Regions from separate parts of the Homo sapiens genome. Here region 1 is linked to region 2. Evidence: promoter capture Hi-C in 16 types of primary human blood cells and fetal thymus (Javierre and others, 2016). All regions are on one chromosome and are shown on one strand. The core of a region is centred on a gene start or on the middle of the fragment in contact, and the rest is flanking DNA. Distances in the headings are between cores, read along the strand shown.

Region 1 (6,913 bases), core at 3,422-5,921, 360 kb before region 2:
AAGCTTAAAAATTGGAACCAGTTCTCTTATAGTAGCTTCTGGATATGTTGTCTGCCCAGGAGATTAAATTACAAATGATATAATTTACAGAAAAGTTTAGCACCTGAAAGAAACATAGTGATTATGTAGCCTAGCCTTTTCATTGTGCTGTTAAAGACATGCCTCAGAAGTTTAAGTGACGTGACTAAGGTCACACAATTGGCAAAGTGGAGAATCAAAAACTATTTAGTAATTGTAGAATTTAGAATTAAAGGAGTGGGATGTTAGGTGCACAAAATTACCTTCCTTTTTTAGCCTTCTGTCTTGTCACCAATCATTCCTACTTGGTGGCCATATACTTGGAAAAAAAGCCGCATGATCTTTCTTGCCCCACTCAATGTCTAAGACACCCTGCTTCCTTTGCTTGCATCCCACAGACTATTTCCCTTATCCTATTTACTACAGCAAATCTCTCCTTAGTTGATGAGACTGTGTTTCTCGCTCTTTAAAACCCTACCTATCCTGAATGGTTTGTCATTGTCTGCCTTGAAAATCCCTCCTCTTTCTCTTCCTCTATTCTCTAAATAAGGATGGGGCTAAGTTATACCCAAAGCTCACTTTACAAAATATTTCCTCGGTACTTTGCAGAAAACACCGAAAAAAATGCCGTTTTAAAAGAGGTGTATTTTTTCTTTTAGAATGTGAGCTCCTCAAGAGCAGGGACAATGTTTTCTGTATGTTCTGTTGTGCCTAGTACACTGTAAATGCTCAGCAAATACTGATGATAGGAAAAAAAGTTATGCCATAAAATTTCTGTTGATTGATAAGTTGACCTTATCCTGTCAAAGTATATTTCTCCACAATTGAATTGCTTCTCTAAGTTAATGCTAGAGACATACACTCTTAATTTGTAATGCTTCCTGTAGAAGATATCATAAAGTAGAAACTTATTGCTCTGTTTGTATTCTATCAGTTGCATTATGCCATACAAAGTCTAGGAATGTGTCTTGTTTTTTTTTTTTACATTCACATTTAAAGGTAGCTACTTCCTCCAAATGTGTAAGAAGAAAATTTATCCACTATGAGTGGACTCTAGTTTTTCTGTTACATTTATTCAAAGTATTTGTCTTTTTTAGACCAGGAAATTTGAGCCTCTTACAAGCACTGTTTTGAATACTCTGCATTTTGGAGGCCAGGAAACCTCTATTTATTTACTGGGCTCCAGGGTTCTGTTACTTTGGTCTCTGTTAAATGAGTGAAGCCAATCTGATAAACTAATTTAAGCTGTGTTCCTAGCTGTTAATGGCTTTCTGTGCGATTCAGATAAGATGTGTGCTTTGACAGGAGCTTTCAGAAATAGATTTTAGGGTTTTGGGACAGAGCCCCTGTAGAGATAGGAACTTGGGGAGGGGCTTGTAAAATAAAACAACAATAAATTGAAAATAATAATAATAATAATAATATCGCAAGCAAAACTGCTATCTATGAAATGCTTGCTCTGTGCCAGGAATGTTGTGCTTTCTGAATGGGATTCCCCTAAATGTTCTTTGAGGGCATCAAAGATCAAACTTATTTGAATTATTTTCTGTTTTCAGAGTATCTATAAATGCAAGCTGGAGACAGGACTCGGTCACATAGGGCTTCAGGATGTATACGTGGTATTATATTTTCTCAAGGCATTTTGAATTTGGGAGAAAAGGAAACCTTATTTTTAGGTGAGCTAGGCTAAACATAGGCCTAAATCTTTCTTACAGGAGCCAAACATTAAGTTTAGAAGCAACCTTTTAATTCATTAACTAGTCAATGATTTGACTCTGTAACCAGATCTTCATTATACATTTTCAAGATACCAGTCATCGAGAAGGATATGTTCAAAAGAAGGCCAGTCCCTTCTCTGGATGAGACGCTATCCTGGCTCAGTCCTGGATATGCCTGAGAGCAGGGAGGTATTGGTTTTTGCCTATGAGTGCCTGGGCTGTGGGCCCATCTCCACACACAGAGAGAATCAAAGGCGTAGAGAAATGTGTTTAGTTCGATGACAGGGCTAAGGCCCACAGCTACAATTTAGTCAGGACATTGCCCTTTGGCTGCCGCTCAGTGCCCACAAATTCAGGATGTTGGCACAGAAACAGGTGGTGTCCATCTGGGCTGGTGAAAGCACATGATCTTCTCTTAACATGTGATGAAGCAGGCACCCAGAGCAGCTCCCAAACAGCAGGCTCTGTGGCCGCCTTCACTGCTGATTCCATTACCACTCCACCACAAGAGGTGAGGAGCAGCTGCCCCTCCGAAGGCCGTGCCCCAGGACCCACTTGCTTTCACCTTCACTTCTCAGCTCCAGCCCTCCCCCACAGCTGTTTCAGAGGACAAAGACACTTTATTGCAATATGCAAAGCTCTCAGGATGCAAACTATATCTGGATTAACAACTATAAGTACAGTTTTATTACTTCAGCTTGGCATTTGCTGACACAGAAAGCAAGTATTTATTGTCATCTCCATCCTGCTTCCCAGTTTTAACTTTTGTTCTCCTGCCATCCAACTCCAATTCCAGAGTTATTTTCTTTGCTTCCTCAGATTACTGAGGAGATAATGTCCTTTCTATTTGCCCTCAGGTCCACACCTCGTTTTAAAGCCAAAGCTATCACCCTGACTACTGGATTCCAATCTGATGAGTGCTTAGTTACTACCCCAAGATTTCCATGAAGAAGCTGATAAATGACACATGTTTGAGAAAGCTTTAGGGGTCTTGCAAGCACAAAGGAGTCAACTCCTGATTAGATGAGAAAGCTAACTATGCAAAAGGAAGGTGGCCAGTCTTTGTGATATTTCATTGGTCATATTCCCCCTGAAATGTTGTTTAAAAGCAAGGAACATTATCAAACCAGCATGTATGGAGAGGTTAGGAACAAGAATAGTGAAGGTCAGGAAACTACAACTAGATCGTTTAAAAATATTTATTGAAGGCCTGATAATAATTTTGAAGGCATTTTTGAGTGCTATGTGCCCATCATTATGCTAAACACTTTCTATGAACTACCTAACTTAATTTTCACAATGAATATTTGAGATAGGAATGACTGGTATCCACTTAAAAACAAAACTATCAAGGCTATGGGAATTATGTGGCTTGATCTATGAGAGTTTGCATATTATAGAGTGATCCAGGATTTGAACTAACGTAGTCTAACTTTAAGCCTATAGGCTTCACACCAGGTGCAGGGTCATGTGTTTTATACTTGACATTCAAAAAAATTAACAAACAAGACAAATAGTGTGCCTGCACTTATGGAATTTACAGTCTAATAGTAGTGAAAAATAAATAATTGTCGTGTTATGGTAAGGGCCATGAAAAGCTCATGGCTTATTCCTGTGATAGAACACCACTGGTCATTTTCCTTTCTCTTTTTCCTCTTACCAACCTGTACATAAATATCAAAGTAATCTTCCTAAGAAAATTGTCCTTCATATTCATAAGACTGCAATAACCTAAACCCTCCTCAACTGAAACATGTTTATAAGGAAGAACTGAAAGGATTAAGGAAGTCTCTTTTAGAAAAAAGAAGACTCAGGAACACAGTAGTTATTTTTTCATATAGTCAAGGAGCAAGTAATCAAAGGTTCAAAGAATTCTTCTGTAGCCTGCAGCACCTACTATGTGGCAGGGTGTGTGCTTGGTGCTGAAGATACTAAGAAGAATCATAAAAATGCTAAGAAGAAGTCCAAAAGTCAAACATGAGAATCACTACTTATTAAACTAATTGATTTGCAGACACTGGGGAGACATCAATGATCTCTTTGGGGGAAGTACGTGAAGAGATATGCTAAGCAAAGAGAATCATGGAACCGCTAAGAGACAGGCAACTGGGAGATAACTTGATTTAGAGTATCTTAAGCAAACAAATAATCCAACAACACTATTTTCGTTACTGGTGATTCATTGAGGAGGGAGAAAAGGTTTAGGTTTTTAAGTCAGTCAGTCCAGGCTCTGAATTCTGCCCCAGTTGCTAGCTAGCTATTGATTGTGGGCAAGAAACATAAACTTTATGAGCAAATTTTTCCTCATTTGTAAACATGAAAATAATACACATATCAAAGAAGTAAATGACAGATGTGATAAGTACTTCTGAATGTAGGAAAAAGCAGTAAGTCATTGTTAGCTTCATTCATTCATTTATTCAGTGTCACAGAGACTTGAATGGGAAAGTCATGTCAAATGCTGAAGTACATAAAAGAACAATACCAGAAGGCAGGTAGGAGGAAGGTTGTGTATTATTTGGAAGACATTCATTATAAATGACAAAATTTAACAAGAAGTAGATAAAAAAGAAAAGACGAGAATAAAAGGATGTGATTGCTCATGTAACTCAAAAATCCACAATAAGTGAGGTTGGATCCAGGGGCTCAAGTGAAATCATCAGATGCCATTCTCTCAGTCTTCTGGCTCTTGCTCTTCTGTGTTGTTTTTTTTTTTTTCCTCAGGTATGCAGTCTCTAGTTCACAGCAAAAATAGATTGTGGCCTCTCTAGGCTTACATGGTCTTTTGTTTTTGTTTTTGTTTTTTTGAGACGGAGTCTCCCTCTGTCGCCCAGGCTGGAGTGCAGTGGCGCGATCTCGGCTCACTGCAAGCTCCGCCTCCCGGGTTCAAGTCATTCTCCTGCCTCAGTCTCCGGAGTAGCTGGGACTACGGGCGCCCGCCACAACGCCCAGCTAATTTTTTGTATTTTTAGTAGAGACGGGGTTTCACCGTGTTAACCAGGATGGTCTCGATCTCCTGATCTCGTGATCCGCCCGCCTCATCCTCCCTAAGTGCTGGGATTACAGGCGTGAGCCACCGCGCCCAGCCGACATGGTCTTGTGTTTACAATTTTGAAGTAGAAAAGTCTTAGAGATCATATCAATCCCCCCCAAAACCCAGTCCTTGCTGGCGCCATAGGCCCATCTCTGACCTAATCATCATGTCTAGGGTGGGGAAAGCAACTTTGATGGACCATCCTGTACTACATGCCCACCCAGCGCAGTGGGTGGGACCTCATCTCTCCCAAGACTGTCATGAGCAGATGATCCAGGTTGGCCAATCAGAAAATTCCAACCCCTGGCACACCACCCAGAGGAAGTACAGTTACTAGAATAGCAGACTTTTTGGTTTTTTGTTTGTTTATTTTACCAGAGAAGGAGAAAAGGATGAAGAAAAAAAAAAGCCATCAATGTCCACAACTGGAAAGGATATTGAAATTCAAGATATATAATTAGACTACTGATAAATGTTATTGATAACATTTGAGACACAGGTAAAAAGGGAATAAGACTTCTCATCACCAATGTGCATATTAATAAGCTAAACTTATGGCATTTTATTACCATGAAAGTATTTAAAACAATTGCTAGTATCAGTAACACTCTTTGATTTGGGCAAGGAAATCCTGCCTTAGGCCTCACATTGGAGAGGGACCACTGTATTATAAACACAGCCAAAACTAAATTTATTAAAAAACCCAAAGTGGGGCCGGGCACTGTGGCACACGCCTGTAATCCCAACACTTTGGGAGGCTGAGGCGGGTGGGTCACCCGAGGTCAGGAGTTTGAGACCAGCCTGTTCAATATGGTGAAACTCGGTCTCTACTAAAAATACAAAAATTAGCCAGTCATGGTGGCACATGCCTGTAATTCCAACTACTTGGGATGCTGAGGCAGGAGAATCGCTTGAACCCGGGAGGTGGAGGTTGCAGTGAGCCAAGATCATGCCACTGCACTCCAGCCTGAGCAACAGAGTGAGACTCTGCTTCAAAAAGAATAAATAAATAAATAAATAAAAATATAAAAAAATTAAAATAAAAACCCAAAGGGGTTTCTGCCCCGAGGATCCATTGTCCAGTGCTGGCTTAAGGACATATAACCCTTACATCTGCCCTAACACCTTTCATTCCCCCAGAGAAATGCTTCTCCACATCTCTTGTCCTTTGTCCTCAAAATGAAAGACAATTATGAGAAGAGAGGATTTTAAATGTTCCCAACACAAAAAAAGGATAAGTGTTTTGAGGTGATATATATGCTAATTACCATGATTTGATCATTACACATGGTATAACTGTATCAAAGTATCATTCAGTACCCCATAAATATGTATAATTATTATGTGTCAATTAATAATAAAGTTAATTTAAGAAGCAATTGTATCCAAATACCATTAAGTTGGTGGATTGTGGCGCTAGGAGATGGATACACCCTGGCACTAGGAGGGGTTTGAATGGCAGAAGCTATTAGGACAGAAAAAAACAAATTAATTAACTTGTCAAATTTGTCCTCTAGGATAACATGAATATATCACATTCTTGTATAAAAGATTATCATTCCCCAGTAGTGCCAATTGTCCATTTTCTTGCTTCTCTTTGCATTCCAATTTGCAGTTTCACAGAGAATCATCAACTAGCACAGGTTACACATGGCAGATGAGAAATGTTTTGCAATGTTAAACAGTTTATATAACTCTTAACTTTAGACATTTGTGGCCAACATAATATGCGTAATATTAGAAAGGTATGGCCCTGATTCTTTACATTGGCAGGTACAAAGAAATTGAACTCTAGAATTGTGAACAAATTAATTTTGTAAAAATATTTGAGTTTTAAGTAAATATTGAGATTTAAGTAAAGCTTAAAAAATAAAACTTTAGCTTAAAATAATCTTGAATTCATGATATTTATTAAATACAATTCATATTTGCCTTTTTATTTGAACACATTTAAGTACTTAAAAAAACTTTCTTAAAAACATACATGTTATTTTGTTTATAAAATCTTTCATATTTATTTTAATTTGAATTTTAATGAGAATATACTCAAATCTTGTACACTTTTACAGCTATTTTTAAAATCCCTTAAATGAGAATGAGTACAAGATTGTGATATACACATTAAGAAATTTGAGCTCATGAA
Region 2 (6,851 bases), core at 3,854-6,353:
CAGAAACATGGCATAGTTGACAAGATGACAAGAGTAGCGCAAGACAGCTCTAGCCAAGACCTCTTGTAGCTGCACGAGCAAGGAATCTGCTTCTGCATCTTCAGTGCATGTATTCTCTATCACTGTGGACTGGAAAATATATTCCTAGACACAGAGAAGGGAACTTTTAAACATACTCAAGATACAGAGTTACACTGAGTCCCTGCTGTTACATTTTTCTTCTTTGCACATCTCCTCCCAGAAGACTCAGGTATTATGAAGGGATTGTGAACAGCATGAAGATGGTTGTGGCCAGTGGGAGTCTGAATGGTAAATTTTATTTAAAAATTTATATTTAAAAAATGAATAAACATTAATCTCAGCAATGAAATCTATATTTTATAAAACTATAAAGATGGGTTGTTCAAAAAGAAGTGTAAGAGTGAAGGGATGTCAAGAAAGATAAAGACTAAGATACAGATATGGTGACATTCCAGAGAGCAGTTTCAGGTGAATTCTGAACTTAAAAGTGAGATTTCAGTGAGGTAATATGGTCGAGGTGTCTCACTAAACCTAAAAGTAGAAGATAAAAAAAAACTTAGCAGAGATTTTCTTTTATAAATGAACCCTGAAATTAGGAACAGAGAAATGAGATCAAGAAAAGACTCTTGTGTATCAGCATGACCTGGAAAGTGACTGACAAATTTGTGAAGCTGCCAGAATTGTGAAGGGGAGTTAGGAGTTCACAGCAGCCTGAGCCTGGCATTTAGAGTCTGAAAGAGCTACTTTGGTAGAAAGGTCAGTCATAATCTCAGGTGGACACTGATTTTTCTCTGTTGTTGGCTGAAATGTTATTAGGTAGGCAACAAAGACATGATAGCCACTCTGTCAAGAAGAGACAATCTATAAACTGTGTGGGAAATATGCATTGAATCCCAAGTCTCCTGTGGAGAATCTTGTTTCTCTCCTTTTGTTCTTTGTCAGAATTACTGAACCTTAGGAAACAAACTCCCTTCCTCTTTCTCCCTCCATCATTCCCTGAAACTTGGCTTCTGACATGCTCACTTTATGAAAATTACTCTTTCAAAGGTTACGACTGAAGTTTTTATTGCTAAATCCAGCATGCATTCAACTTAGATCTCTCTGATGCATTTAATACCACTGGATACTGCTTCCTGGACACTTACACTGACTTGGTTTCCATGACACCACACGCTATCCTCTCTGCCAAACATAATTTTTTGTCTCCCACCTCCCTCCCCACCTGCCATTCTTATCTTGCCTCTAACACCATGAATGTGAATGTTTCCTCAAGTCAGTGGTTGGCTCCCTGACCTTTCCTCTCTTCTCTTTTCCACTGAAAGACAAAATTCATTTTTGTTTCATTATCATTTATATGTTGATTTCTCTGAAACCTGTATTTCTAATTCCAAGTGGCCGTCACATATTACAAATTCTCCAAGACCTTTCTTACACATAAGTCATACTATCATTTCAAATTTAGCATTTGAGGAACCAAGTTTACCACCTACCCTCCACCTCCTCCAAGTGAACATCCTCTCAATTGTCCTATCTGTACTGGCAGCACCATATTTTTTTTCCACATGATTTGCAGTAAGAAATATGGTTCCATATTCTATATATATATTTTTAATTCTCATCTTTGTCCTTTTTTGCACTTACAATAAGACCCTGCCATCAGTCTAAGTTGTGTATCTTTGGTTTTATCCAACCACATATCAGAGTGATAATCAGTTACTCTTGATGCATGCCTCCATTGCCTCTTTCCATCTAAATGCTCTCAAATTCCCTTACAACTGACAGAACACACAGCAAATAATTCTTTACTGAACACAAATCTTGTTCTACTCAGTCTCTTCCTATCCAGTCTTTCCCATTGGTTACTGTGACTTAATGTCTTCTACAAACACCTGAGGTCTCAGAAACCATCTTTAGGTTATTCTTTAATCCCTCAGGTGATCTCCAGTTATATCTCATACTTCTGCTTTTTTGAAGCTCCGAGTCAGATCCTCTTTCTGCTACTGCTGATGCCTTCTTCCACTATGCTCTCTGAGGGTAAACTTTGTTGCATGCCAATTAATGTAGCCAAGACAACTCTGTTTGTGGCACACAGGTGGACCTGTTTCTCTTCAGCATACTGTATCTTTTCTTCCCCCAGCCTCAACTCTTCCATAGCCATCCAGACAGGAGCCGCCACCTTGACCTGAACTTTCACTGGCAGGATGGCACCCAGGAGGATCCAGCAACAGTGAGGATTGGCTCACTGTGAGGATTGCACCCAGTTCTGAAGACCCAGGATTCATTTTCCTACATCCTGACATCAGAACTTTTCCTTTCTACAATAAAAATAATTCTCAGTTTCCTCTTTGACAACTCTTGAAGTGCAGGCTGTTCTCTTCCAAGGCCTGAGAAGCATATTCTGGGGAAGGAAACTAGACAACAGAATCAGACTCCACTTTTTCTCCCTTTTCCAATTATACTGTAGACCCTACCTTCCAACCAGGGTTTCCTTTTCACAGTGTATAACACAACATTTTCATATTCAACTGCAAACCCTTGCACTTGGCCCCAACAGCTATCTAAAGCCGTTATCTCCAAGCTCTCCCACCATGAGTCTAAGGCTGTGTCACTTATCCCCAAGACCTGTTCCCTAGGCTTATCTCCCATTAGAGAAGACTCTCTTTGATATTAATTTGCAAACCATTTTTTGTTAAGATAATGATTATTTATTTATTTATGAAGAAAACTAGAAGCATCTGGTAAGCCCTGTGTTCTCTGAGTTTTATGGCACTTATTAATTAACATCTGGAAATGTTAGGGAATTGCATAGTCCCTGGGTTCTCAAGAAATGTTACCTTCCTGCTCCTACTTCCAGTATTACCTTATCATATTATTCAATTGTATTCTACTTTTTGTTGCTAATAAACTGTTTCTTGTAAAAAAAAAAAAATCCTCACACAAAGTTGAGTCCTTTGATTCCACAATATGTAACAGTTTCTTTTCATGTGTAAGAAAAATTGTTAGATGAAACCAATGATCTAAATATAAATAAGTCCTAATACCCAGATTCAGTCTAGAAGGGATTCAAGATAAATACAATAATATCTATAATATGAGACAGATAGTGGTAACAGCCATAAAGGCTCTAAAATGATGGTAATAATAACCATCCAGATACTGTTCCATGTACTTTATGTATATCATAGTATCTCATTTATCCTTAGAGAAACACTGTGAGGTAGATAGTTTTATCTTTGTTTCACAGAGAAGGAAACTAAGGTTCAGAGGGGTTTAGTGACTTGCAGAATAGTCAGCCACTAGTAAATGGCAACATTGGAATTCTATCCCAAAGTCTTTGATCTTAACCTTATGGGAAGTACGAAAGAGGGGAAATAATGTATAGTTGGGATATTAGAAAAGTCTTCATGAAGCAGATTGTTTTTTATTTTTTATATTTTTGTATAAATTCAAGGCATACAAGTTTAGTTTTATTACATAGACAGCAATAACATAATAGTGAAGTCTGGGCTTTTACTATAACCATCACCTAAATAAGCTTGAGATTAATGTGGAAGAATGGCTGGAATTCCTAGAAACAGGAAAAGAAAATAAGAGAGAAATTCAAGACAGTATGAAGGCACTGAATAGAAGTAATGAAATCAAGAAAGCCAGGAAGGTATAAAGAACAACAATTAGAGGTGTTTGACTGGAGAATAGGATTAGATTCTGAGATAATAGCCAGGTTAGAGCCAGATTGCAAATGGCATTGGCTTCCAAGCAAATGGTCTGTATTTAATTCAGGAGTCAATAGATGCATAATCCCAACTTTATCACTAACCTATACTGTGCAACAAGCCAGATAAGGCTTCACAACCTGGGATTCCATTTAGAGAAAAAAAGTAGAGAATGGAAACTCCCCAGGGATGAGAATAGGAAGGATACTTTGAACAATGATAGAGAAAGTGTATTCTTGGTGGCAGTGATTGTGTCATTGAAAAGGCTGATTAGGTCTGTGGTGAGCTAACAGAAGAGAGAGTGAACAAGAGGCTAAACAGTAGGATGAGAAACAAGACACCATATAATTCAGGGATGAGAGAGAAAGAAATAATGTGGCTAGAAAGAAGAACTTCAGTTTGATATCTCAGAGGCAGAGAAGGTTTGAGTGGTGGTTAATAAACTGTACAGAGAGAGAATGAAGGAGACATAGAAAGAATGAAGGTGGAGATCTCTGGGGCTGTGAGAGAGCCAGTGACCACTGAATCCCCAGCACCTAGTGTAGTAACTGAGAGCTAGTGAATAAATGTATTAGTGGGGTCATCACCAAAGATGGATTAGATATACACTCAATGACCAAGGACTCAAAGAAGAGGAGAGAAAAACTTGGGGAGATGCTGACATCTCTGCAGGTAGCATGAAGTAACCAGAAAACAAGTCGTAATGAGAAATGGAAAGATCTAGGATAAGGAAGCACCATGATATGCAAACGAAAAAAAAGCACTGAGTAGAAGTAGCAGAAAAATACTAAGCTTCATGGGGACAGAAAGTTTATTCTCCAAGTCCCTCTTTCCCCTTAGCTTTGCCTGGATGTATTACTTGATGTTGAATTAGTCAAAGTTGAAGGCACTTTTTAGGGTCTTCAGCAGAAAGCAGAATCCTAGAATATCCTACAAATACAAGACAACTTGAGAACTATAAAAGAAAGAAAAGGCCTTGTTCCCATAGCCCACAAGAGGGCTGAGCTCAGCGATACACTCTGTGTGGCTCAGGAGCTTCTGGCAGAGCACAGAGCCATCAGAGAGGGGGCCCAGAGAGCAGAGAGAGGCTCTGCTGACATGGCCAGCCCAGCGCCTCATCCCATCCATAACCCTGCTGCCCTGCAATGACTCTCTTCCCAGCAATAAAATCTGGGTCACAGGAGTTGGAGCTCTAGCCATCACTTGTCTCTAATAAATAACTCCCATTGATTTTCCAGCTCAGGGCTCACCACTCCTTCACCGTAAGCGCCAGGAGGCAGACCTGGAAAATCACTCACATATTATTGGTGCTCTTCCTCCCCCATCCTCACCCAAGGTGCATATAAACCCTGAATAACCTGAAGTCTAAGGGCATGAATATCAGACGCTAGGGGGACAGCCACTGTGTTGTCTGCTACCCTCATCCTGGTCACTGCTTCTGCTATAACAGCCCTAGGCCAGGAATATGAACAAGCCGCTGCTTTGGATCTCTGTCCTCACCAGCCTCCTGGAAGCCTTTGCTCACACAGGTAAGGAGGTGAAGGAATGGTCAAGAATCATAAAGTGAGAAAATAGGTTGAAGCTGAGATATCTTTTCCCTGCATTTATACTGAAGGTCATTATCTTTCTTTCTTTATCCCGCAGACCTCAGTGGGAAGGTGTTTGTATTTCCTAGAGAATCTGTTACTGATCATGTAAACTTGATCACACCGCTGGAGAAGCCTCTACAGAACTTTACCTTGTGTTTTCGAGCCTATAGTGATCTCTCTCGTGCCTACAGCCTCTTCTCCTACAATACCCAAGGCAGGGATAATGAGCTACTAGTTTATAAAGAAAGAGTTGGAGAGTATAGTCTATACATTGGAAGACACAAAGTTACATCCAAAGTTATCGAAAAGTTCCCGGCTCCAGTGCACATCTGTGTGAGCTGGGAGTCCTCATCAGGTATTGCTGAATTTTGGATCAATGGGACACCTTTGGTGAAAAAGGGTCTGCGACAGGGTTACTTTGTAGAAGCTCAGCCCAAGATTGTCCTGGGGCAGGAACAGGATTCCTATGGGGGCAAGTTTGATAGGAGCCAGTCCTTTGTGGGAGAGATTGGGGATTTGTACATGTGGGACTCTGTGCTGCCCCCAGAAAATATCCTGTCTGCCTATCAGGGTACCCCTCTCCCTGCCAATATCCTGGACTGGCAGGCTCTGAACTATGAAATCAGAGGATATGTCATCATCAAACCCTTGGTGTGGGTCTGAGGTCTTGACTCAACGAGAGCACTTGAAAATGAAATGACTGTCTAAGAGATCTGGTCAAAGCAACTGGATACTAGATCTTACATCTGCAGCTCTTTCTTCTTTGAATTTCCTATCTGTATGTCTGCCTAATTAAAAAAATATATATTGTATTATGCTACCTGCATTTGTTTAGTGCTTGTCATAGTCCCATATCTTTATCTTATGTCTACTACTTATCTATCTACTAATTGGTGTTTCATTGGTAATTGGTGTTTCATTATCCTGAAAACTCCAATTGCCAAGTACGGGGAGGAAAACCTGTAAGTAACTAGAAAGATATATCACAAAGCCAGAGCACTCAATGAGCACAACAGTGGCAATACTTAAAAGCTACTAACAATCATTTTAATGACGATTCAAAATATGTGTGGAATTGTAATCACAATTCTCCTATTTGTTTTTCCAGCTACAAATCGATCAAAAAGGGGTCTGAGGTTGCATCAGGTAGACAACTATAATGATATAAGTAAGCAATAGTTGAGAACCTGACAGCAAGTAATAAGACAGGAAGAATAAAACTAGAAGAAGTCAGAATGAAAACCAAAAAAGTATGAGACTGGGATCATTTTGTATGAAGACAAACATAACTTTATGTCTCAAAAACCTCAGTAGGACTGTACAATGCTTGATTTTCATAATGTTCTCTTGATGTCATCAAAAAATATTATACTCTGAATATTGCTCACATGAATATGCTGTCTAAAATTCTTCCATGGATTCACACTTCTTACAGGACATGATTTAAACCTCTAAATATGACATTGCCCTCTATAACCTGGTCCCAGTTACTCTCTCTGAAATGTACACAGAGAGTATACACAGAATA

The links. Contacts are between HindIII fragments. The CHiCAGO score rates a contact against its expected background, and 5 or more counts as called.
Region 1: a fragment that was not itself captured here is called in contact with the fragment with the promoter of APCS in region 2 in 2 of 17 cell types (M2 macrophages and endothelial precursors); the score reaches 7.4 in M2 macrophages.

What each region holds. Positions count from the first base shown.
Region 1 is chr1:159,227,509-159,234,421 of GRCh38, forward strand. No RefSeq gene overlaps it. Among named protein-coding and RNA genes, the nearest start is that of ACKR1, 26 kb to the left of the region's middle. The HindIII fragment of the contact is 3,915 bases long and covers 2,715-6,629 here.
Region 2 is chr1:159,582,723-159,589,573 of GRCh38, forward strand. APCS (amyloid P component, serum) reads left to right here and starts at 5,104. Exons shown (of 2, transcript NM_001639.4): 1 at 5,104-5,263; 2 at 5,379-6,143. The coding sequence starts at 5,200. The coding sequence ends at 5,986. The HindIII fragment of the contact is 2,624 bases long and covers 4,525-6,851 here.